Regions from separate parts of the Homo sapiens genome. Here all the other regions are linked to region 2. Evidence: promoter capture Hi-C in 16 types of primary human blood cells and fetal thymus (Javierre and others, 2016). All regions are on one chromosome and are shown on one strand. Each heading gives the region's core, a stretch centred on a gene start or on the middle of the fragment in contact. The rest is flanking DNA. Distances are from core to core; before and after follow the strand shown. Region 1 overlaps CYRIB (CYFIP related Rac1 interactor B). Region 2 holds the start of ASAP1 (ArfGAP with SH3 domain, ankyrin repeat and PH domain 1). Region 3 overlaps CYRIB (CYFIP related Rac1 interactor B). Region 4 has its middle 28 kb from the start of GSDMC. Region 5 overlaps CYRIB (CYFIP related Rac1 interactor B).

Evidence for each region. The method cuts DNA at HindIII sites, captures the fragments that hold promoters and counts their contacts. A CHiCAGO score of 5 or more calls a contact.
Region 1: a contact is called between a fragment that was not itself captured here and the fragment with the promoter of ASAP1 in region 2, in 3 of 17 cell types (naive CD8 T cells, monocytes and total B cells). The highest score is 6.5, in naive CD8 T cells.
Region 3: a contact is called between a fragment that was not itself captured here and the fragment with the promoter of ASAP1 in region 2, in 1 of 17 cell types (monocytes). The highest score is 5.1, in monocytes.
Region 4: a contact is called between a fragment that was not itself captured here and the fragment with the promoter of ASAP1 in region 2, in 1 of 17 cell types (total B cells). The highest score is 5.1, in total B cells.
Region 5: a fragment that was not itself captured here is called in contact with the fragment with the promoter of ASAP1 in region 2 in 2 of 17 cell types (non-activated CD4 T cells and neutrophils); the score reaches 5.2 in non-activated CD4 T cells.

What each region holds. Positions count from the first base shown.
Region 1 is chr8:129,872,792-129,877,981 of GRCh38, forward strand. The region is part of intron 5 of CYRIB (CYFIP related Rac1 interactor B); the gene reads right to left. Among named protein-coding and RNA genes, the nearest start is that of GSDMC, 89 kb to the left of the region's middle. The HindIII fragment of the contact is 2,784 bases long and covers 1,461-4,244 here.
Region 2 is chr8:130,441,601-130,446,127 of GRCh38, forward strand. ASAP1 (ArfGAP with SH3 domain, ankyrin repeat and PH domain 1) reads right to left here and starts at 2,074. Exons shown (of 30, transcript NM_018482.4): 1 at 1,860-2,074. RefSeq lists silencers at 1,629-1,708, 1,759-1,918, 1,929-2,018, 2,059-2,158. The HindIII fragment of the contact is 9,673 bases long and covers 915-4,527 here.
Region 3 is chr8:129,857,290-129,862,229 of GRCh38, forward strand. CYRIB (CYFIP related Rac1 interactor B) reads right to left here. Exons shown (of 14, transcript NM_001353258.2): 7 at 4,940. Among named protein-coding and RNA genes, the nearest start is that of GSDMC, 73 kb to the left of the region's middle. The HindIII fragment of the contact is 5,826 bases long and covers 1-4,809 here.
Region 4 is chr8:129,812,617-129,817,257 of GRCh38, forward strand. No RefSeq gene overlaps it. Among named protein-coding and RNA genes, the nearest start is that of GSDMC, 28 kb to the left of the region's middle. The HindIII fragment of the contact is 792 bases long and covers 1,311-2,102 here.
Region 5 is chr8:129,910,601-129,915,879 of GRCh38, forward strand. All of the region lies in intron 2 of CYRIB (CYFIP related Rac1 interactor B), which reads right to left. Among named protein-coding and RNA genes, the nearest start is that of MIR5194, 95 kb to the right of the region's middle. The HindIII fragment of the contact is 2,528 bases long and covers 2,756-5,279 here.

The sequences.
Region 1 (5,190 bases), core at 1,603-4,102, 570 kb before region 2:
TTTGGTAAATCTTTGTCTACCAATCATATAAAATTAGTTAACTAGACTTTTCTGCTCCTTTTCACCTCACCACAAATACACAATGATTTCTTTATTCCTTTACTTAGAACATTGTAAAGAAACTTTGTTTACACGTGAAACTGGGAGTAAAGATCCCTAAAAACGGTAACGTTATTTTGTGCTTGGAGCAAGTCATAATTCAATTCTACCTAATAAACCTGCCAAATAGTCAAAAATATACCACATTTTTTTTAAAATTCAATAATTACATTACCAAATTTTAAACTCAACATATGTAAAACAGTACTACAGCAACAATAAAGTAACATTCATATGTAAAGTCAACTTAAGAATGTGTTTACATATCTGTTCCCTTATTTTTCAAATTTCTTTTCAGAAATCATTTTTTAGGAGGAAAATACTGTGACAAAATAATTATACAAGAGGAGCCAATTGAAAAATTAAAAAGACTCTCTATCCAAGGCTACAAAGGTATTATCACTAGGAACAAATACTGATATTGCAACTAAATGGTTAGCTTTCTTATAGATCAAGCTTTGCTATTTAGCAGTAATAATTTACTGCTAAATATTTTACATTTAGCCAGACCATATTTTCCAATGTAATAGTCAGACATACACTCTTTTTAAAAAAGCACACTTCATAACTTTTATACTTACATCAGATTCAGTAGAGAAAAATATGTTTTACATGCAAAAAACGACAGTCTTACACTTTTTCATATGGAATTGTGAAACTACAGACATAACATCAATAGTAGACACGTATTTAGTTTGAATTCATGAAGTGGGAATTCATGACAAAGGACAATAGTTTAGCTATTATATATCAAAGGTATCTGTGAAGTTTGAAAATGCTAGACTATGTATTTTAGGTGTGGTGACTAGCTGTTAACATAAAAATGTGACACTGAGACTTAACATACAAACGAAACATTATCAAGTAGACTTAAGTAGACCTTGTAAGTGGTTAATAACTAGTAAAGGTTTAATAAGTACCAAGAAATTTAAAAATAGAGGAGAAGATTTAAGTTTCCCTTTAGGGTGAGAAAAACACCCAGCACCACAATGATTAAACATTTTTTAGACTGTCACAGGAAAGTCACATTTATAATTTTGAAAGCTGCTGAAGACTGCTATAGAAATGAAGACAAACAGAAAATAGCAGACAAGTAAGCACTACTTTACTGAAAGCAAGTCATGCAAAAGGGTGAAATACTAGGAAGGGGGAAAAGCTGTATAAAACAAAGCTTTTTATTTTATTTTTTTCAAAAAACGGTACTATATAATGCAACCAAGACTTGTCACTTTGATTTTCCATAGAAAAAAATGGCTTTACTATTTAAAAAAAAAGTACCATTTAGTCAGCTTACAAAAGGACATGCAAAATTGCAAAATAATGTATCTACTACTGAGGGTAGACATATTCATTACTCATCAAGCTTAGTTTTTAAAGCTGTTCAAGGGAAATTAAGGCATGTTTCAATTGTTCTTATTGAAGGTAAATTAAAAATTTTATTAACTTCACACTAATTTCTTATAGGGTGGAGGGTAGAAAAAGAGTCAATATAACTGCTAAAATTGAAGTCGTTGTAATATAAAAAGAAGCAAAGATTAACTATGAAATGAAAAAATAAAAAGTCAAGATAAAAATTATAATTGTGATAAGGGGTCTTTCTGCTTTAATTTTACATTAATTCACTTAATAAACCTACGCAATCTATCTCTGTAAGTTACATCAAGACAGAGACCAGAATGTACAGTATGTACCACTGGTACATCTGTAAACTCAGTACCTAGATTTTCTGTAATACATTTTGAATGAATGAGAGGGTACAGAGACATAAATAAGCCTCTGGCATGAATTAAAGGAGACTACTATGCTTTTTGATCTCTGAATAACTATGATCCTATATCATTTTTGAAAAATAAATATAAGAAAGATGACACCAGAATAAAGATATTTCAAAGTACAGGGCAAAACCAACTGAAACTATGCAAGAGATAAATGAAAAAATAAGTTAGAGTAGGTCCCAATATTTCTAAATGATAAGGGGGAAACAAGTAACACAAAGGACACAAGAACTATAGAGGAAATGCATGACTCAATGGAAAGGCACTATAACAGAATCAGAGAAAATATACTCTATTTCTCCCTTAACAAATGACTACCTCTATTTACTCTCCTATTTTGATTTCCCTGGAGGTAAGTGAGTCAAGTTTAAAAAATACTTACTGAACTTCTATCATTTAAAAAGCACTATGCTAAGATTGGGAAAGGACACAAAACTAAATACAAGTCTCTTTTCTCCCAAGAACTAGAATTTAGTGAGCTAGCAGTTATGGAAGTTACTGAGGCTAAAGATTTGTCATTAGAATAAGCTATAAATTAACACTGTTGTTATAAAATAGGAAATTCCAACAACTAGAAGAGGCTATGCAGGCCCCCATTCAGTGCTTTTTTTTTTTTTCAAAGACAGTTTCACTCTGCTACTCAAGGTGGAGTGCAGTAGAGCAAATCACAGCTCACTGCAAGGGCACACATCACTATTCCCAGCTAATTAAAAAATTTTTTTTTTCATACAGATAGAGTCTTGCCATGTTGCCCAGACTGGTCTCAAATTCCTTGAATCAAGTGATCCTTTTGCTGTGGCCTCCCAAAGTGCTGGAATTACAGCCATGAGCCACTGCACCTAGCTCGATTGAGTGCTTTTTATATGCTGTCAATAGCATAACTGCTGCCAAATTTTATGGAGCAATTTTGGGCTTATATTTTAACTGAACTATTATTAAATAAAAACAAAATAAAATCTTATCATATAGGTGTAATCTGTTCTAAGGAAAAAATCCTTCTATCAAGACTAAACGTCTAACTGAATACAGAATGACATTTCATGCCTTAAGGTCTCTGTCCATGTTGTTCCTTCTTTCTACTGTCCTTTACTGTATTAGTTCAAAACATTCTAATTCACTCTCCAAAACCCAATTCAAACATCACCATCAGAAAGTCTTCCATGATGGGCCAGGTGTGGTGGCCCACACCTGTAATCCCAGCACTTTGGGAGGCTGAGGCAGGTGGATCACCTGAGGTCAGGAGTTTTAGACCAGCCTGGCCAACATGGTGAAACCCCATCTCTACTAAAAATAAAAAAATTAGCTGGGTGTGGTGCTGCATGCCTGTAATCCCAGCTACTCGGGAGGCTGAGGTAGGAGAATCACTTGAACCCAGAAGTGGAGAATGCAGTGAGCCAAGATCATGCCATTGCACTCCAGCTTGGGTGACGGAGTGAGACTCCATCTCAAGAAAAAAAAAAAAAGGTCTTCCATGATGATTCTCAATCTACTCCCTGCCATTTAAAGTTAGTATCTTCATGAGCTACACGTTGAAAATAAATAATTTAAGTAAAACTGAGTTTTCTGGCAGGTGGGCACCTGTAATTCCAGCTACTTTTGGGTACTGAGGTGAAAGGGTCACTTCAGCCTGGGAGGTCAAAGCTGCAGTGAGCTGAGATCATGCCGCTGCACTCCAGCCTGGGCGACAGAGACTGACCCTGTCTCAAAAACAAAACAAAACAAAATTATGAGCTTTCGTGTCTATCCTCTCCTACTAGATTGAGAGCTTCCAGCATGTATGGGTTGTATCTTAGTTATTTTGCAACCCCAGCACCTACTGGCTGGTATACAGGAGGCAAGGCATAAATGTATGTTGAACTGAAGTGAAAAACAGTTACAGGGGTCATGAGAGGAGTAAATTAAAGGAATAATGATTTACTTTAAAGACAATCTTAATTTTGTAAACTACAAGATTCCATTAAATTACATTTCAAATGCACTAGAGTATGTCATTTGTATATAATATGATACAAATAGCGAGGTAATCTGCATGAATTATTTCTGTAGTCACCCAACTGCAGAGACATATTGGGTCACCCAACTGCAGAGACATATTGGGTCACCCAACTGCAGAGACATATTGGGATAGACTTAATCAATCAGATTAATAAAACAGTAAAACTAAATTACTCTGGTGACATGAATATTAAAGTGCATCTAGAAATAAACAATGTAGTACTAATTACTCTAGCAAAAATAATGTGGCTTTAAGTTATTGAGAATTAGCAGATAACTATGTTGGCAATTTTGAGTCTGGTATAAAGCAGTATAAAACGGTTTAAGAGAACACCCATCTGATAGGCCAAGGTCACCATAGTAGCTTATAAGGTAAGCTTTTACAAACGCATATTTCCAAAAAGAAGAAAAATATACAGAGATTAAATTAAGATAATGCCAATGTTAGAATCAAAAGACAATGTATCTAAAAATCTAAATAAGAAATAACAATGGGTAAACTCTAGTTTGGTATACAGTATGCTGTCACTAAATTTCATTTATAGTATACCAGTAAGTATAAAACCAGAAGATCTACATTGGCTGATATAGGCAACAATATCTGCCTTTACAGTTAACATTTTATATGTATTTCTGCATTATTGGTTATTATTGTTGCTTGCAATTTTTACCTTTTCCTGTCACTATTATTAAATTATAATAATGTACCAGGTGCAGTAGCTCACACCTGTAATCCCAGCACTTTGGAAGGCCAAGGTGGGTGGATCACTTGAGCTCAGGAGTTTGAGACCAGCCTGGGCAACAGAGTGAAACCCCATCTCTACCAAAAATATGAAAAATTAGCTGGGCTTGGTGGCATGTGCCTGTAGTCCCAGCTACTCTGGAGGCTGAGGTGGGAGGATCCCTTGAGCCAGGTAGGCAGAGGTTGCAGTGAGCTAAGATTGCGCCACTGCACTCTAGTCTGGGTGACAGGGTAAGACCTCATATCAAAAAAAAAAAAAAGGTGTGTGTGTGTGTGTGTGTGTGTGTGTGTGTGTATAAAATGATCCAAACACTCCCACAGATTGGAAAGCCAAGACCAAGTAATCTTTTAAATACTACATTTAAATTCATGCTTCCCACTTGACCATAACATAATACTAGGTTTACAAAAAGATCAAGTGCCAAGTCTTGAACAAGATCTTGACTATCAAAGTCAAGATTCTGTAAATGTAAGGAATTTGAGACAAAGAGGAAAAGGGAGACAGAATAGCAGAAAAAGACACAAGACCAAGTTTGAAACAGATGCAAATAAACTAAAATACAGCTCTAATGTAAGTTG
Region 2 (4,527 bases), core at 824-3,323:
CATGGAGATGCCAGCTGGGACGTGAGTCTTCACAAGGGAGGGCTCAATCTGAATGCACACATTCATCTTTGGGCCTGCCAGGCTTGCACTGATTTTGAAAATCTGGCTCGCTGTGGCTGGTGAGGACTGGGGAGGTGTAGAGAATTTCAATTTCCCTCACCAAATGGCAAGCTTGCGAAAAGTCCTTTCTCTCCAACATTATCACATACTAAAAATGAAAAACCAGCCATTCAGAGCTCTCATGAGAAAAATAGATGGGCTGCTTAGCTCACAAGAAACAGGAGGGCTGAAAATCAAGTCTAGAGAACATCAGAGGGTACATTATGTGCTAAGATACTGCCCTTTTTTGGACCTGGGAGTTTCTATTTTGCACAAAAGAATGGGATAGGGAAAGTAATTCCCCGTATAATAAGCCACTCATTTTATACTTCAAATCCATTTGGTAGCTGAATCTCCAAATCCACTTAGTGGCGTTAGGTGATTTTTGTTTTTTTTAACTCCCTATCTCAAAATATGCAGTTTGAAATAAGTGCATATCTCAAAAATAGCAGCATTAACAGGACAGAAGAGAAGGCACTAAAGTGGTGAAGGCTGTGACGCAAAGAAGACGTTTCCAAATCTGTTTCATGGCTAACAGATCAAAATCTAACACAGAAGGGGCATGGGACTGAGCCTGAAGAAGTGGAAACTACTCCTGGCCATGTGATCTTGGGCAAGTCAGGTCACCTTTCTGGGCCTTCTCTGAAGGGGGTGAATCAGTTGTTCTCAAAGATCTTTTTCTTTCCAAACTGTTCACTGGGTGTTTCCAGAAGACCCGCATTTTCTTAAAGCTATCTGGCCGCGCTACAATTGCAAAACAGAAAGGCTTTGGGATGAAGGTTGCAATACAGATAACCCTGGCCTAAAAACTGATAAGCTTTTACAATCCCAAAACATTACTCAGCAATCCAGGTCCTGATGTCATCCCAGAATCAATCACGCCAAGATAACCTAACAGAGTAGACAGGGGAAAATGCGAGAGAAAGTTCTTTTGCTTTCCTGACGAGTACAGGTAAAGTTGAGGTCAAGTTAACGATGATGGTCTGCAGTTGACCATCCTTCTCCCTGAGCTACTGGAAAACCACATTATTAAAGGAAACTGCTTTAGAAGTGCCCAAGATGAACCTCTTGGGATGTATCAAACCGCAGAAAACCGGACACCGGCAAGTTTCTTTTTTCTTTGAAACTTCATGTCGCTCTCAGAAAACGCAGCAGGTCCCAAAATGGTACAAGCAGAAAACACAAGCCACTTCACGGTCCGCCCAGGAGCCAACCCCAAGCTCCAAGTAGGACTCCCCCCACCCCCTTCCCTTTCGTTTCTCTTCTTTTGCTTTAGGCAAGTGGCCTGGGGCCTGCCAAGCAGCGCCGGGTCCGGGTAGGGGCCGGGGGCCGCGGGGAACTTTCCTCGGCTGCACCAGAGACAATGCCGGGAGGGCGCCCCATCGGCGGGGTCCGGGCCGCCAAGCACGTCGTCCCGGGCCCTCCCCCGGAGGGGGACGCGAAACCCCCCAGGGCGGGCCCCGTCCCCGGCCCCACTGCAGGGGCCCCCTCTCCCGAGCTGGAGGCGAGGAGACCTCCCCCCCCCACCGGGCGGCCTCGCCCGGCCCCGCAGAGCCTGGCCGCGCGTCCCGCACACGCCCCAGCCCAGGGCCGGCGCCCTCCCCGCGGAGAAGGACACCCCGCTGCGAGAGGAGCCGGGAGCCCGCCCCGCGCCCCGTCCCGGCGCCCTTCTTCGCGCGAGAGACTGGGCAGGGGGCGCCCGCGACTGTGGGCGACTCCGCCCGGCCCCGCCGAGCGCGCCCGAGCGCCCCGCAACTCACCGGGACCTGGCGGGCCGCTGGGCATTATTCCATCGCGGGTTCGGCCGGGCGCTCGCGGCTCTCGGGTGGGAAAGCGAACTGCGACCGGGAAGCGCCGGCTGGGCGGGAGGCGCGGGCCCGGGGCTGCCCAGCGCACAGTGCTCGCCCGCGGCAGCGGCCAGGCCAGGCGAGGCGCGGGAGCCGAGCGCGGCGCAGGAAGGGGCGGGCGACCATGTGCCGAGGGGGAGGAGGCCGCGGCGACGCGAGCGGCTCGCACGATCCCGCTCGGCGGCGGAGGGCGCGGGTTTCAGGAAATCCAAACACTTCGACAGGAAATCGGAATCCTGACTAAGCATTCCCGGCCCCGAGCCGCTCCGCGCCGGGGGCTCCCGCCTCGCTTAACCCTTGGCCCGCCGGCAGCCACGAGGGGGGCGTGGGAGGGGCCCCAGACCTCGGCCGGGGTCGGGCGTCCTTCGCCTTCCGCCCCATGCCCCGGCCGGCCGGCCTCCTCCCCGCCTGAGGTGGAAGGGGTGGGATTTATCCACAGAAAACCCTGGACGCGGAAGGTGCCTTTCTAAGGCCGGGACAGCGGCAAAGGACGTGCCTGTCTTCCATCTGCAGAGGATGGACCTGCACTGTCCTGGCCGTTACCCCTATTTTCAGTAAAGGAATGATTTCACCAGGCTGCCCCCTTTCACCACTTCCTCTCTGCTCTTATAATTTTATTTTTGCCCAGTGCCAAGGGAACAGGACCTTCCCAGTCAGGATAGTATAGGAACAGTATGGAGAGTAATTGTGTGGGCTGCAGGCTCTGTGTCCGGTTGGAATATGGCCTTTTTTCTACTCATGTTACCTTGAGTAACTCGCTCAACTTTCCTGAGCCTCAGTTTCCATTTATGAAATGGATGTTAATTCCACCCTCATAGGTTTGATCTGGAAGCTGAATGTTTAGACAGGGACTGGCACATTGGAAACGCCCAAATAAATGATAGCCATGCTTGTCCTTATTATTACCATTAAAAGACATCAGAGAAAGGAGGATTTTAATTTGTGGGATGTATATTGTGCATATCTATGTCTACTTTCAAAGTCAGAGACAGTAGTCTTTCTTTAGAACTTAATTTCCCTCCTAATCATTGGGTGATTGTTTTTCTTTGCAGCATTTCAGAAACGGCTCTCTGCAGAGGAAATGGTTAGTGGCTGTGGCAGACCCCCTTCTGGTGAAATCCGAAACAGAAAACCTCACAAAATTTGGGATTTTGCTCCTAATCTGAGAGTCTGGGTGTAGTGGGGAGTGGGGGTTGTTAAACAGTCTGGAGCGGATTTACAAAGTTTGGGAAAACCAAAATCAATCTCTGACTGGGCAGAGAGGTCGGGCAGCCAATGAGTGATTCATTGTGGTTTCCCACGGAAATGCCACATTTCGGGGGTGTCTACCTGGAGGATGCAGCTTGGTGGTTTTGCTGTAAGTGTTTCAGATTCCTTTGAAACCCAATCAGACTTTGAAGAGGGAACAACATGCTCATGAGCGAAAACAGAAGCCTGAAATGAACCTGCTGGGAACTGAAAGTTGGGTACCAGCTCGTTTACTCCAAGTAAGGAACAGATACCAGTTTTAGACCCAGCATTGTTCCTTTTCTGCAATTCTCTCTCCGTGGCCAGAAGCAGTAGGACAGCTCTGAGCTGGGCACCAGGAGTCCCAGGGTCCTGCTCCAGGCCCACTGTAGCTGCCGTCCCCTCTGCCTGGAAGAACCCTTGTATGGCTGTTCTTGGCACGCAGCTCACAGCCCAGAAGTCAGCTCCGCAGATAGGTTTTCCCCAACCATGTGATCTGCTTGTCTCTGGCACCTACACCCCACCTCCACCTCTCCCAAACATAGCGCATCCTGTTTGATTGCTTCATAGCCCTTGTCACTGTTTAATGTAGCCTACATGATTGGTTGCTTATTTTTTATCTGCCCCCCACTCTCCCCACTGCATGGGTAAACTGCATTACAGCAGTACCTTTGCCTGTTTCCTTAGAACAGTGCTGGCCCATATGAGACCATCGATAAACACGTGTTGAATAAATGAAAGAAGCAAACAAACTAGAGTTGCAGATGGGACCTCTGCCTGAGGTAGGGTGGTTCACTCGGTCCCGCAGCTCCCTGTGGCTTCCTCTTTGGTGGAGAGATTCAAAAGGGAACGCCCAGTGCGGTGGAAGGAGCACCAGATGGCTCTATTAGTGCTTCTGGAAAACTAAAACTATAAGTAGGCCAGGCGCGGTGGCTCACGCCTGTAATCCCAGCACTTTGGGAGGCCGAGCAGGTAGATCACCTAAGGTCAGGAGTTTGAGACCAGTCTGGCCAACATGGTGAAACCCCGTGTCTACTAAAAATACAAAAAATTGCCGGGCGTGGTGGTGGGCACCTGTAATCCCAGCTTCTCCAGAGGCTGAGGCAGGAGAATCGCTTGAACCCGGGAGGCAGAGGTTGCAGTGAGCTGAGATCATGCCATTGCATCCCAGACAGGGTGACAGAGTGAGACTCCGTCTCAAAAAAAAAAAAAAAAAAAAAAAAAAAAAAAACCTAAGTAATTAAGACTGTCAAATGAGGTAACTATAGTCTCATTGGTATAGTCCCAGTTAATTACTCCCTCCTTTGTGCTTCCTTGGCATTTCTGTTTAAAGAATATATTTGTCATATTGTAT
Region 3 (4,940 bases), core at 647-3,146, 580 kb before region 2:
AGACCTCACCTAATGGAAGGCCCAGGAAAAGATCTCCCTGAATAAATGACTCCTGGACTGAGACTGAAGTATGTAGTAAGGATGAACATGAGTTTGCAGACAGAAAGGCAGGAAGCCAGACCCTGAACTGAGAAGAGCATGACATACTTGAGGAACTGCAACACCACCAATATAGGAGCACAGAGGGCAAGGAGGAGGGTAACCAGGACTAAGATGATTCATACACATGTAATTTGTGGACCACATTAAGTACTCGGGCTTTGGCATCCTAATGTCCCTAGAGAAATCATCTAAGCAGAGGAGTGGCGTCAGCAGATTCGCATTTTAAAATGCTACTTCATTTGCAGTGTGGAGCATGGACTATAGGGGTATGGATGGTGTATCAAGGTGTAACAGTGGATGTGAAGAAGATCAATTAAAAGTCAAACATTTTGGGTTATATTTTAAAAATGGTTTACTTCTCCCAAGATTCATTCTTTCTGTTGGTGTTAACTGGAAAACTAAGTAAGAGAGACACCGAACAGAAAAAAACATTTTTACAAAATATTATTATAGTCTGTTAAAGAAAAAAAGAAAAATGCATCTGCCTAGACTTTATCAAGTCTCAGGGTTAATTTCAGCATTCCAAGTTCTCTACCACTTTTGGGACTGGAGTCAGGTCGCTTGACTAAGTTGGGATGGTCAGTGACCAGTAGTTGCAGAACTTTTGTCTATGAATGGCTGAGGCCCTCCATGGTAGATCTATGTTGAAAGGGAAGCTCAAGATGATAAATCTGCTAATCTGCCTTTGAAGCAGCTAGATCAGCCTCACCCTGCAGGCCTGTGCTGGCACAAGTCAGTCCTACTAGCCTACAATGCTCTGTCTCAAGAGAGAAACTGGAGACAATCCCACAGAAAATGTCCCAGAGGTCTCTGGATGAGTTGGAGAGAAAGAGAGGACAAAGAAAAGATGCCTGGGATTGGACTCAGATGAAGCTCCTAAAACAAAACCATGAGATTATGATTTTTTAAAAAGCAGATGACCAGGAGAAAATTAATAGTCTATTAAGCCCTAAGTTCTGGAAGAACCAAAGGAAGCTGGCAGATGAGTGCAGGAGCCAAAACCACAGAAGGAGGTTGCAAGGAAAAGACAACTAGAAGGAATGATAAAGATGACAAATCAGTCCACAAGCTAGGACAGGGAAGAATAACTAGTTGATTAGGAAGAGGAGGCCCCTGGGGAGAGTTTCCCTATAGAGACAACAGTCGTTTATTCTCATCAACTGCCATCTATCTACTCTCAAACTCTCAGAAGAGAACCTGAGGACATGGATTCTAAAGGATTTAAGACAACCAAGAGTCATGACCACAATTAACGGTGGGCATTTGGGGCCTTTAAAATACATTTTGATAAATTCTGCCCAGTGAAACGAAGCTAACATGTTGAAGGGACTTATTATGACCCTTGGAGGCAGTCCCTAATGTAAGCCCCTAAAGCATGAGCAAGACTGAGGGGAGACAAAGCAGTTTGTCCTACTACCTGACCATACAACCTTCCCTTAGGTATCTGCCTCAACAGGAGGGGCTCCAAGGCCTCAGAACAAAACAAGCAAGTACAGAACAAGCAAGTATGGCAAGTTTACTGTAGGGTCCAGCCCCACAGGGTCGGTGGGTTTCTCCCCGTGTGCAGAGACGAGAGAGTGTAGAAATAAAGACACAAGACAAAGATAAAAGAAAAGACAGCTGGGCCCGGGGGACCACTACCACCAAGACGCAGAGACCGGTAGTGGCCCCGAATGCTAGGCTGCACTGATATTTATTGGATACAAGACGAAGGGGCAGGATAAGGAGTGTGAGCCATCTCCAATGATAGGGAAGGCCACATGGGTCACATGTCCACTGGACAGGGGGCCCTTCCCTGCCTGGCAGCCAAGGCAGAGAGAGAGAGGAGAAAGAGCGAAACAGCTTACATTATTATTTCTGCTTATCAGGGACTTTTAGTACTTTCACTAATTTGCTACTGCTAACTAAACGGCAGAGCCAGGTGTACAAGATGGAACATAAAGGCGGACTAGGAGCGCGACCACTGAAGCTCAGCATCACAGGGAGATGGTTAGGCCTCCGGATAACTGCAGGTGGGCCTGACTAATGTCAGGCCCTCCACAGGAGGTGGAGGAGCAGAGTCTTCTCTAAACTCCCCCGGGGAAAGGGAGACTCCCTTTCCCAGTCTGCTAAGTAGCGGGTGTTTTTCCTTGACACTGAGGCTACCGCTAGACCACAGTCCGCTTGGCAACGGCCATCTTCCCAGACGCTGGTGTCACCGCTAGACTAAGGAGGCCTCTGGTGGCCCTGCCTGGGCATAACAGAAGGCTCGCACTCTTGTCTTCTGGTCACTCCTCACTATGTCCCCTCAGCTCCTATCTCTGTATGGCCTGGCTTTTCCTAGGTTATGATTATAGAGCGAGGATTATTATAATATTGGAATAAAGAGTAATTGTACCAATTAATGATTAATGATATTCATATGTAATCATATCTAAGATCTATATCTGGTATAACTATTCTTGTTTCATATTTTATTATACTGGAACAACTCGTGTCCTCGGTCTCTTGCCTCGGCACCTGGGTGGCTTGCCGCCCACATTTACCAGGGCAGTGTAGTTAAACCCTGTCAGCAAAACTGAGTATCTTCAAATTAAGCAGGTAATCCTTGCCCTGTCCCATTGTAAGTATGCAAACTGGCAAGGGATCAGGGTCCTTCTTCTGAAGTATAACCCATGGTGTATCTGTAGTGCTCAGGCCAAGAAACCTTCTCCTTAGAACTGCAAGATTCTGAAGGATCATGTGTGTCTTCATAGTTGCATGCTGCTCCATGGTGCTGTTTGTGCTGGAATAGCACCCATGATGGGACACACACCACGAGACCGATTAATTCCCATGGTAAAAATATAACACTTAAGTCCAACTAGTTTGGCCTATTTTACAATTATTCTTTGTGTATTGGGATATGCTAAAAGACCAAGATGAGCTTGAATAGCATCTGAGCACCATCAAAAGCAATTTAACTATAAATGCAGCCAGAAACCAGCGTAAGAAAAGCTGTATATAGTAGAGAAGACAACCAAGACAGAAAACCTAGGCTGATTGGGTTATAAAGTGCAAAGCTACAAACTATAGAGACTCTTGATTGAAAGACAAATACTGTAAAATAACTAATACTAAAATTGGGAAAATAAATTACAATTCTTATTTCCAGTAAGAAAAAGATAATTTATACAATATTTCTATCCAAACTACTGTCTGTCTTAACATTACATTTAACAGGCTGTACTGCATCTAAAGGAAAAACAGCAACTGTCTTACTTTTTTTTAAGAACATAGGCATTTTTAAAAAATGGAACTTCAACTTCAGAAGTTACAAATACAAATGGCCAAATAGCAAATATAAATATAGTAAGATATTAAAAAACATGAAGCAATAAAAACTTATTACAAACTAGAAAGCACAAGTCCTAACTAATGGAGGCAGAGATGGTTTGCCATGTGGTTCTGGCTCTCTAACATGCAGATCAATTATTGCTAGTTGGAGGCTTAAAGAAAAAAAAAAAAAAAACCATACAGTGACCAAGTGTTAAACCTGGCAACTAAGTAGAAATTTTCAAAATTATGTGGGCCAGACAAATCACATCTCTCAAGTCTAAATTTAGCTTTTGGGTCCCCAGTTTGACTTCAGTCTTACAGTATATACCCCCTGGTTTCTGGCTTATGTATTTAAAAAACAATCACAGTATGATTTTCTTATGATTAATTTGTAATGTTTATACATTTCAAAAATTCAAACTATATGGAAGTACGTGTTTTAACTACATTCAAATCGTCCTAATTTCTGACACACATCTATACTATTCCTCTCCTGTGTCTATTCACTGTACAAAATAAAGTGCTTCACATTTACAACTTTAAAATCAAACAAAGAGCTAACTGGCTAAATCTTACCTGCTCTGCCTCCTCCTCCTCCAATAAAGGGAGTTCCAATTTTGCTTACTCATATTGAAGACACAATTCTGACCTTTGAATAATTTTTCCCAAGCAAGGGAAAAAGCAAACTGTTTTGAACTCTTTTTGCTTTAATAACTCCCTAGACAACTTTGGGTATATCATTAGCTTTCTATTTCTTTCTTTCTTTTTTGAGACAGGGTCTCACTTTGTCGCCCAGGCTGGAGTGCAGTGGTGTGATCACAGCTACTGCAGCCTTGACCTCCTGGACTCAGGTGATCCTCCCACCTCAGCCTCCAGAGTAGATGAGACCACAAGCATGTGCCACCACACTCAGCTTATTTTTGTTTGTTTGTTGTTTTTTTTTTTTTTGAGACGGGATTTTGCCATGTTGCCCAGGCTGGTCTCGAACTCCTGAGCTCAAGCAATCTCCCAACCTCAGCCTCCAAGTGTTGGGATTACAGAAATGAGCAAGCACACCCAGCCTATTTCTCATCTTCTACAGTTTTAGATACATGAATTAAGCGTAACCAGTAAAAATTTCAAGAAAACCTCTTTGATTTCTTTGGATGCTAAAGGGTCCTATTATGAGAAATCACTTGGTAGAATCTCTCTCCATCGCTACAGTAAGTCCTTTTCCCATATATGGGAAAGTAATCCTCAGGCCCTTGGTTAGTCAAACTTTTGTGTTCTTAAAATCATTTAAAATCAATGCTCAGATTCATGTATGTAAAACGACAGATGATGAGGAAAATAACTTGTGGACAAAAATGGTCTAAATGAATTAAAAGGCCAGGGTTGAAAGAAGATTAACTATAATCTTACAGTCTAACAAGCTTGCTTTACTTATAAAACAGATACTAAGCCAAATTCAGCATTATGAACATAAAAAAACTCTAAACTTCTGGAATGAATAAACATCTTTTTCACTAGGGAAGTCACAATTACAAAACTTTCAACTTACC
Region 4 (4,641 bases), core at 457-2,956, 630 kb before region 2:
TCTTTTTTTCTTTGTTATTCTGCCTAGCAGTCTATCAGTCTTGTTTATCCTTTTCAAAGAATAAAGTTTTTATTTCATCAATCCTTTGTATGAATTTTTAGGTCTTAATTTCACTCATTTCTGCTCTGCTTTGGTTATTTCTTTGGGTTAGTTTGTTCTTGCTTTTCTAATTCCTTTACTTGCAATTTTAGATTGTTAATTTGAGATCTATCTGACTTCCTGATGTAGGTGTTTTAGCATGATAAACTTTCCTCTTAACGCTGCCTTTACTGCATCCCAGAGATGTGGATATAAGTGTCTCTGTTTTCATTTATTTCAAAAATTTTTTTGATTTCTGCCCTAATTTTGTTGTTTACCCAAAAGTCATTCAGGAGCAAGTTGTTTAATTTCCACGTAATTGTGTGGTTATGAGAGATCTTCTTGGTATTGATTTCTATTTTTATTCCACTATGGTCCAAGAGTGTGTTCAGTGTGATTTCAATTTTTTTGAATTTATTGAGAGTTGCTTTATCACCAAGCATGTGGGCAATCTTAGAGTATGTTCCATATGCAGATGAGAAGAATATATAATCTGGGTAGCTGGGTGGAATATTCTGTAGATTTCTATTAGGTCCAATTAGTCAAGTGTCAAATTTAAGTCCAGAATTTGTTAGTTTCCTGCCTCAATAATCTAATGCTGTCAGGGGAGTGTTGAAGTCCCCCACTATTATTGTGTGGCTATCAAAATCTTTTTATAGGTCTAGAAGTACTTGTTTTTTTAATTTAGATGCACCAATGGTGAGTACATATATATTTAAGAAAGTTAAGTCTTTTTATTGTATTGAACCCTTTATCATTATGTAATGCCCTTCTTTGTACTTCTTGGTTGTTGTTGGTTTAAGTCAGTTTTACGTGATATAAGAACAGTGGCCCCTGCTGTTTTTTTGTTTTTCCATTTGCATGATAAATCTTTCTCCAAGCCTTTACTTTGAGCCAGTGGAGGTTGTTACTGTGAGATGAGTCTCTTGACAATAGCTGCCACTATGTATCTTTTAAGAGGAATATTTAGACTATTCACCTTCAAGATTAATATTCATATGTGAGGTTTTGATCCAGTTGTGCTGTTAACTGGTTGCTATGTAGTCTTGATTGTGAAGTTGCTTAATAGGATCTGTAAATGTACTTAAGTGTGTTTTTGCAGTAGCAGGTATTGTTCTTTCATTTCCATGTTTAGAACTCCCTGATGATCTTTTGTATGACTGGTCTAGTGGTAATGAATTCCCTTAGCATTTACTCATCTGGAAAAGATTTTATTTCTCCTTCACTTATAAAGCTTAATTTGACGGGATATGACATTCTTGTTTGGAATTTCTTTTAAGGATGATGAAAATACACCCCCAAACTCTTGCAGCTTGTAAGGTTTCTGCTGAGAAATCTACTGGTAGCCTGATGAGGTTCCCCTCGTAAGTGATCTGACTCTCTTCTCTAGCTGCCTTTAATATTTTTTCTTTAGCATTGACCTTGGATAGTCTGGTGACTATATGCCTTGGTGATGTTCATCTTGTATAGTATCTTGCAGGTATCCTCTCGATTTTTTTTTTGCTTGAGACAGAGTCTTGCTGTGTCACCCAGGCTGGAGTGCAATGGCGCAATCTCAGCTCACTGTAATCTCCGCCTCCTGGGTTCAAGCTATTCTCCTGCCTCAGCCTCCCGAGTAGCTGGGATTACAGGCATGTGCCTCCGTGCCTGGCTAATTTTTTGTATTTTTAGTGGAGATGGGGTCTCACCATGTTGGCAAGGCTGGTCTTGAACTCCTGACCTCGTGATCTGCCCACCTCAGCCTCCCAATCTGGATTTCTTATATATGATGTCTCCCTCTCTAGCAAGATGAGGAAATTTTTCTTGAATTATTCCCTCAAATCTGTTATCCAGGTTGTTTACTTTTTCTCCTCTCTCAGGAATGCCAATAATTCATAGGTTTGGTTGCCTTACATAATCCTATATTTCTCAAAGACTTTGTTAATATTTTAAAATTATTTATTTTTTATCTGACTGGTTTAGTTCAAAAGATTGGTCTTCAAGCGCTAAAATTCTTTCTTCTGCTTGGTCTAGTCTATTGAGAAAGCTTTCAAAATAATTCCTTAAGTGAGAGTTTTCAACTCCAGAATTTCTGGCTGACTTTTTATGATGTTTATCTTTCTTGTCTTTCATTTCCCGAATTGCCTTAGTAGTTTCTTCATATTAATTTTGATCTCATTGAGCTTCCTTATAATCCATGCTTTGAATTCTTTATCTAACATTTCTGGGTTTCCACTTTGGTTAGGAACATTGCTAGAGTGCTAGTGTGATCCTTTAGTGGTGATACGGTTTGGCTGGGTCCCCACCCAAATCTCATCTTGAATTGTAGTTCCCATAATCCCCACGTGTTGTGAGAGGGACCTAGTGGGAGGTAATTGAATGGGGGCAATTACCCCCATGCTGCTGTTCTCATGATAGTGAGTTCTCATGAGATCTGATGGTTCAAAAGGGGCTTTTCTCCCTTTGCTTGGCACTTCTCTTCCTGCTGCCATGTGAAGAAGGGCTTGCTTGCTTACACTTCCACCATGATTGCTAAGTTTCCTGAGGCCTCCCCAGCCATGCTGAACTGTGAGTCAATTAAACCTCTTTCCATCATAAATTACCCAGTCTCGGGTATGTGTTTATTAGCAGCAGACTAATACAAGTTGTATCACAGCCTTCAAATTTTTCATGGTGCCAGAATTATGCTGGTTTCTTCTCATCTGGAGAGGCTAGCACTTCTAATTTTTCTAATTATTTTCTTACAGGTGGATTTTTTTTTCTTTCTTCATATATTTTTTCTTTTCCTTCTCCTGCCCCTTCCTAGGATGTGTGTCTGTAGAATATGTTGAGTAAGGTCTTGCAGCTTTGCTTGTATACCCCTGTGTACTTCTGTCAGCAGGTTTTATATTAGATTTTGCAGTTTGGCCTACAAGTCAGTAGATAGTGCTTACAAGTAAAAGCCAGCTGCTTCCCAGGCAGATGTGTAAGTACTTGATCTTTGTTTACTATGAGATGCTCTCTGTTGTTTCAGGTGATGGGCTGGACAGTGGATAGCCTGATGCCATGAGCTTCTTCTTCCCAGGATGTAGGGGGACAGAGCTTAACAGAACTGGAGCCCCTGGCTTGCCCACAAAGACACCAATAGTGAGTGCAGACATCAACTCTGATGAGAGCGGCTGGGAGGCATTCCTGGTGAAATGCACTGATGTCTCTCTAGGGGGAGTAGAGGCTGCACAGGCTCCTTCTTTTAGATAGGCAAGAATGTGATCTGTTTCCCTATCACACCCCTGTTCTGGAGCTCATGACTTCTAGGTCAGAGCACACTGTAGTCTACTTCTAGACCACAATGTGGTTAAGAGCCATGAAAAAATGCCTGTTTTGTGACTCTCTATTAGAATGGTTTCAGGACAGGACCTCATCATTCAACCCAATAAATGGGTAGGGAGTTGTGGGGTGCGCAGTCTCCCCATTGTTCCTCTGTTTCTTGGCTGTGACATCAGGGCTGATGGTGAACAAAAATGCCCCATCTTCTTGTTTCCTCCCTGGCCTGAGTGTAGCAGGGGCAGCTGCATTGGCAAAGGTGATTATGAAGGGCTTGTCAGCTACCTCTGGGAAAGTTGGTCCCACAGGAACACAGAGCCACAACCAACTGCAGTGTTCAGGTGGGGATGGGGTGGCTGCACTGGGAGCCCAAGCTAGCAGGTCTTGCCTAATGAGGAGCAGCAGTGGTGAGGAGGGTCACACAGTCTGTCTACTATTCAGTACCATGACTGTAGCATCTATCCTAGGAGCATGCAACAGAGCTTGTCCTTCCTTATTGGTGGGGCTATGTCAGCTGGTGCTGGGCTGCTCAGGGATCAAAAGCCCATAGGGCTACATATGGTCTTGAGCAGTGCCTCTACACAGACTCCAGACAGCACTCTGTGTTGGTCTGGAAACCCAGGGGAGTCAGGGTGGCTTTCCTATGCCCAGAATTGTAAAGTTTTATGGCAGAAGGGCGAATACACTGGGGAATCATTCCCGCATTAGGGAGCTTCCCCCAGCTCTACCCCCGTTCCAGTTGGGCAGCCACCTAGCTTCATTCCTCTCTGTTGTTCATGGATCCCATTGCTTCCTTGGTGAATCCCAGCATGATCTCTTAGATGGTTCACTTAAAGAGCTAAAATTTAGTTGCCACTTAGTTTTCTCTCCATAAAAGAGGAACACACTAACTGCTTATAGTCAGCTATCTGGAGCAAAATATTCTTCTTCATTTTTGAAAGACACTTTTGCCAGATATAGCATTATTTGTTGGCAGTGTTTTTTTCTTCCAGGACTTTGACTATATCATCCCACTCATTTCTGGCCTCCAATATTCCTGTTAATGAATCCACTGATTATCCTGTCGTGGTTTCCTTGTACATGATGATTTGCTTTTGTCTTGCTGCTTTAAAAATTCTGTCTCTATCTTTGACTTTTGACAATTTTTAAATTTTTTTCACAAGAAAATTCAGAAGAGGCCTCTGACAACTTGAGATAATGTTTCTCAGTGTATATTTATTTAGATTCTTCTACTTGATGGTATCTCAGAAGTCCCTTGGGCTCTCTCATTTTTTTTTTTTT
Region 5 (5,279 bases), core at 2,770-5,269, 530 kb before region 2:
CAGACAAGACAACATAGCAAGACCATATACACACAAAAATTAAAATGAACAGCCAGGTCTAGTAACATACAACTGTCGTCTCAGCTACATGTGTGGCTGAGACAAGAGGATGGCTTAAGCGCAAGAGTTCAAGGCCACAGTGGGCTATGAGTGCCACTGCACTCCAACATGGGCAACAGAGCAAGACCCTAATTCTAAAAACAAACAAGAGAAACACGGTCTCGCTCTGTCGCCCAGGCTGGAATGCAGTTGTACAATCATAGCTCACTGTAACCTTGAACTCCTGGCCTCAAGGTGTTCTCCCTCCTTGGCCTCCAAAAGCGCTGGAATTATAGGCATGAGCCACCTTGCCCGGCCTCTCTCCCATTGTTTTGTTAACTACTGAGGCCAGCTATTTTTTCCTCCACAATTGTGTAACTTAGTCCTTCCCATTTTCTATCAAGGCCTTATGTATTTTTAAGGAAATAACTATCAAATCTGAACTTCCTTGATCAGATACTCAATATAAATGTATAAAGTGAGGTACAGTCTTTTAAAATTGTCCCTTTCTACTCAGCTGCCTTTTTCTAAGTACTTCCTATGTTTTAGACACTGTACTGCATGATATATTTCACATAAGCCTGTGAACCTAATAGGTTAAAATTAAACCCTTTTCATTGATGAGCAATCAGAGGCTTTAAAAGGTTAAGTAGTTTGTCCAAGGTCATGACTAGAGGGTAAGGAATTGGGAAAAGGAGCGGAAGGGACAGAAATGAGGAAGGGAACAGAGGGAGAAAATTACTTTTCAGGAAACAATCTTGTTCAATATTTATTATAATATTCCTTTCTGTAGATGTGATTTCTTGTAAAACAAATACTACTTTTCCACTAACTTCTTTTATTGTAAAATTAAAAATGATTCTTTAAAAAAATAACCCACGGCCGGACGCGGTGGCTCACACCTGTAATCCCAGCACTTTGCGAGGCCAAGGTGGGCGAATCACGAGGTCAGGGGTTCAAGACCAGCCTGACCAACATGGTGAAACCCTGTCCCTCCTAAAAATACAAAAATTAGCCCGACTGTGGTGGTGTGCAAAAAAAAAACAAAAATAAAAACAAACAAAACCTACAACAGCAATAATGCTGTTTTCAATTATGAAAAACCTGAGGCAAGGGCTAAATTAAAAGGCTCACCAGGCTTTGAGGACATTATACAGAACCTTCTTACTTCTGGATCTCCTGGTTACTGTCAATATCTTGCCCTGATTACTGACCATCTACAATGGGACTTTTCTGATACTTCAACTCAGCTAAGTTTTGGAACATACAGCCATGGAGAGACTGTAAAATGCATTTTTGATGGCAGGTGCTGCAATCGTGCTAACCTAAAGATTCCACAGGTTTAAGATACGTTCTGTGAAAACAAGTAAGTACCTTATTTTGCAGCTCTATAAGCTCAAACTCTGTAAAATTAAATGCTAGTTAAAAGAAAGAATTTTTAGTGTTCATTTAATCTACCCCACATGTTCAAACCCCCTTATAACATTTACACACATAATTTTAAAGGAATGGTAAATACAAACAGAGGTAATAACATAAGGCAAATAAAGCTTTACAGTTTATATATATACACGCTCCAAATTTACCCCAGGTTCGATTTCATAAAAGATCAAATAGTTGAATTTATACATCCTGCTAAATATATATATATATGCTCCAAAATTATCTGAAGTTGCAAACTGCACTAGCACTGAAATGACCATTCCTTCCAGCTTCTCACCTGCTTCACCACTCCCCCAGTACCACTCTCTCCACCTCTAGTCCAATGCTGCAGTTATCTGAAATTACAAAGTTTTTTTTTTTTTTTAATTATGACCAAGTTTGGCTTACCTGAGAAGTGCAAGGTTGGTTCAGAATACCTACTGTTTTCACCACCCTAACAGATTAAAAGAAAAAAGCCATATAATTACCTCAAAAGATGCACAGATGCACTCTGGGGTTGGGGGAAGGGGAGGACTGGGAACAGAGAAGGTGCATTTCAATGAAAACAAAGACTTGGGTTTTTTAAATTTGCCTTTATTTTTATTTTTTTATTTTAGAGACAGGGTCTTATTAGGATGCCCAGGCTGGGGCTTTCTTTTCTTGCAAGTCATTTTTTTTTCAAACAATTCTATATGATAATCAACAGGATGAACTAATGAAGGCATATTAAAGAGTGGTTCAGGTAAAATGATTCAGTGAATTCCTAATCTGTGTGTCATGTTTACGGTGACAGAAAACAAGTGTGTTCTCTACTGCTGTTAAAGTTATCTCTACTGCTGATAAATTTAAATACAAAGCGCAAAAGTGAATCCTACAATGCAATACCATGACTTTCAGGAATCTGCTTCACTTTTTTTTTTTTTTTTTTTGAGACGGAGACTGCTCTGTCACCCAGGCTGGAGTGCAGTGGCATGATCTAGGCTCACTGCAAGCTCCGCCTCCTGGGATCACATCATTCTCCGGCCTCAGCCTCCCACGTAGCTGGGACTACAGGCGCCGGCCACCACGCCCGGCTAATTTTTTGTATTTTTAGTAGAGACAGGGTTTCACCGTGTTAGCCAGGATGGTCTTGAACTTCTGACCTCATGATCCACCTGCCTCAGCCTCCCAAAGTGCTGGGATTACAGGCGTGAGCCACCCCTGGAATCTGCTCCACTTTCAAAATCATGCCTACATAAGCAGAAGCTCTTGAGATAAACCTTGTCTTTCCCCACAGTGTTGTAATTACAGTAAAAGCTTTTCCATAATAATCAGAACTAGAAGTTGTTCAATTAATTGCAATTATTGATAGAAACATTTAAAATACATACACGTGCATTCATTAGCTAATCCTTTTTTAAGAAAACCAAAGCACATTCTTCAATGACAAGCCATTGCTAGAGTATTTTCCAGCCACTATGATCCAATGTTTTTGTAGAAATTACCAGAGGAGAAAAATATTTAATTTTTAAAAACTTACAAAGTGGAAATTCCAATTCTTCACAGACTACGTGTGAACAGTTCATGGACCAGTGCTGGTTTGCAAAGTGCGCTTTGAGTAGCACTAGTATAAATAAAGCACGGGCTCTGGAGCCAAACTGTGAGCCTCACCCTTGGACAAGTTTCTCTCTCTCTAGTGGGGATAATATTAATACCTACCACCTAATTGGGTTATTATGAAGATTAAATAAGAATATGTCTAGCATTTAAAACTGTCCCTGCCAGATAAGGACTCTATAAATGAAAGTTGATGTTATTATCATTATTACTATTGTATAGACCATAACCATAAATACACTTTTTCTAAAATGTCTAGTTTTTGTCTTTTTTAAATGTAATGAGAAATGAAGGTACTGAAAATACAGAATTCTTTATAGTTTTATCCTTTTCTCCAATTTTTTATATCCTGATCCATGACCAATCATATCACTTCTTTTAAAGTGAGTCACTAGTCACTGCATACCTGTTATTCACTAAATGTACAGGCTGCAGAGCAGTAGCTGTCCTGTGTTACTTCCCTGTCCCCAGTGACAAATCCATGAGATACTTTTTTTTTAAATGGGCAACTGAAGGAGAGGATTTGCCAACAAAGACGAAAGTGAAGCAAAGAAACAAAAGCGATAATGCTGGAAATAAAATTCTAATGGAATATAAATGGAGTTACAAAAGAAAGAGTTGACTGTGAGAATGGTGACACCGCTGCCAACAGGGAGACTAAATATGCAGCCAGAGGAACCTTCTGAAGGTAAACTGATCAACATAAGAGAGTGGTTATGGTGAAAAGGATGACAATGTCTCAGAGGAAGTCATGCCAGCAAAAATCCTTCATATTAAAGGAACTTTTACATATACTTCTTGATATTCACAATGTAATGGATAAAATGTTTGAAGCTGATTCAAATTTAGAAGTATTAACAACTTGTCCAAGGCCTAGAAATGATGCTCACTCCACACTGTACAACAGGGAAGAAGAAACCAGGCACAGTTCTAATTACTCTTGAAAAGATTTTTACAAATAAATAAAACACTTTAGTTTTCAAGGTTTAAATTACACTGTACTAAGTAAATACTAGTTTTACTGTTTTATCCATTTCCCTATACATTTTGCAACAATGAGAGTTATGTTTTGACGAAAATTTCTAAAAATCATGAACAACATAATTTCTAAGATTGCTTTGCAAAATTTAAGTCTGCACAAGTATTTTTACATTCCACAGCACAAAATGAGAACTGCCTGTATACACAACTTTCACAACCTAAGAAGGAAAGCAACTGAATCTAAAAACAGGCAAAAGATTTCAACAGATAATTCACCAAAGTTAAATGGACTGCAAATAAGCACTTGAAAAGATGCTCAACACCATCGGGCACTAGAGAAATACAAACTGAAAACATACCAGATGGCTAAAAAAATACTGTAAATGACCATACCAAGGGCTGGTGAGAATACAGTGCAAATGAATTCCTATACACTTGTGCAAAGCCACTTTAAAAAGTTAAATATACACCTTCAATATGACACAGTCATTCCATCTACGTATTCATCCAAGAAAAATGAAAGCATTATGTTCATACAAAGAATCATACACTAATGTTCATAGCACTTTACTTGTAGTAGTCTCAAACTGCAAGCAACCCAAATGTTCATCAACAAATGAATGGACAGACTGTGGTATTTCCATATGCTAGAATACTATTCAGCAATAAAAGAAACAAGCTACTCACACATCCAACAATAAATATAAATCTCAAAATCACTATGCTGAGTTGAAGAAGCCAGATATAAAAGAATATATATTGTATGAGTCCTCATATATAAGATTCTAGGAGTTAAGTCTGGGCAACACAGTGAGACCCTGTTTCTAAAAAAATTAATTAATAAAAAAGTAAGATTCTAGGAAACGCAAACTAATATAAGGACAGAAAGGGCACAGGTGGTTGACTGGCGTCTAGGGGCAGGTAGGGTGGATAGATTTGAAGCAGGCAGGAAAAAACTTTGAAGGTGATTATGTTCATTATCTTGATTGTGGTGATGGTTTCATAGGTGATTAACTATGTTGAAGCTCCACAAACTGTATGCTTAATAAAACTTTTAAAAATGGTCCATGGACCATCTGCATCTGCCAAAAATGTGGATTCTCAGGCTTGCCACAACCCACTAAATTTTGTGGGTCAAGCCTGAGAAATTGCATTTTCCAAGATCCACATTACTCTAAGGTATGTATTTACTCTGTAATCTAGAGGATCTAATGCCTAGAGTCTCCAGAAGAACTATCTCA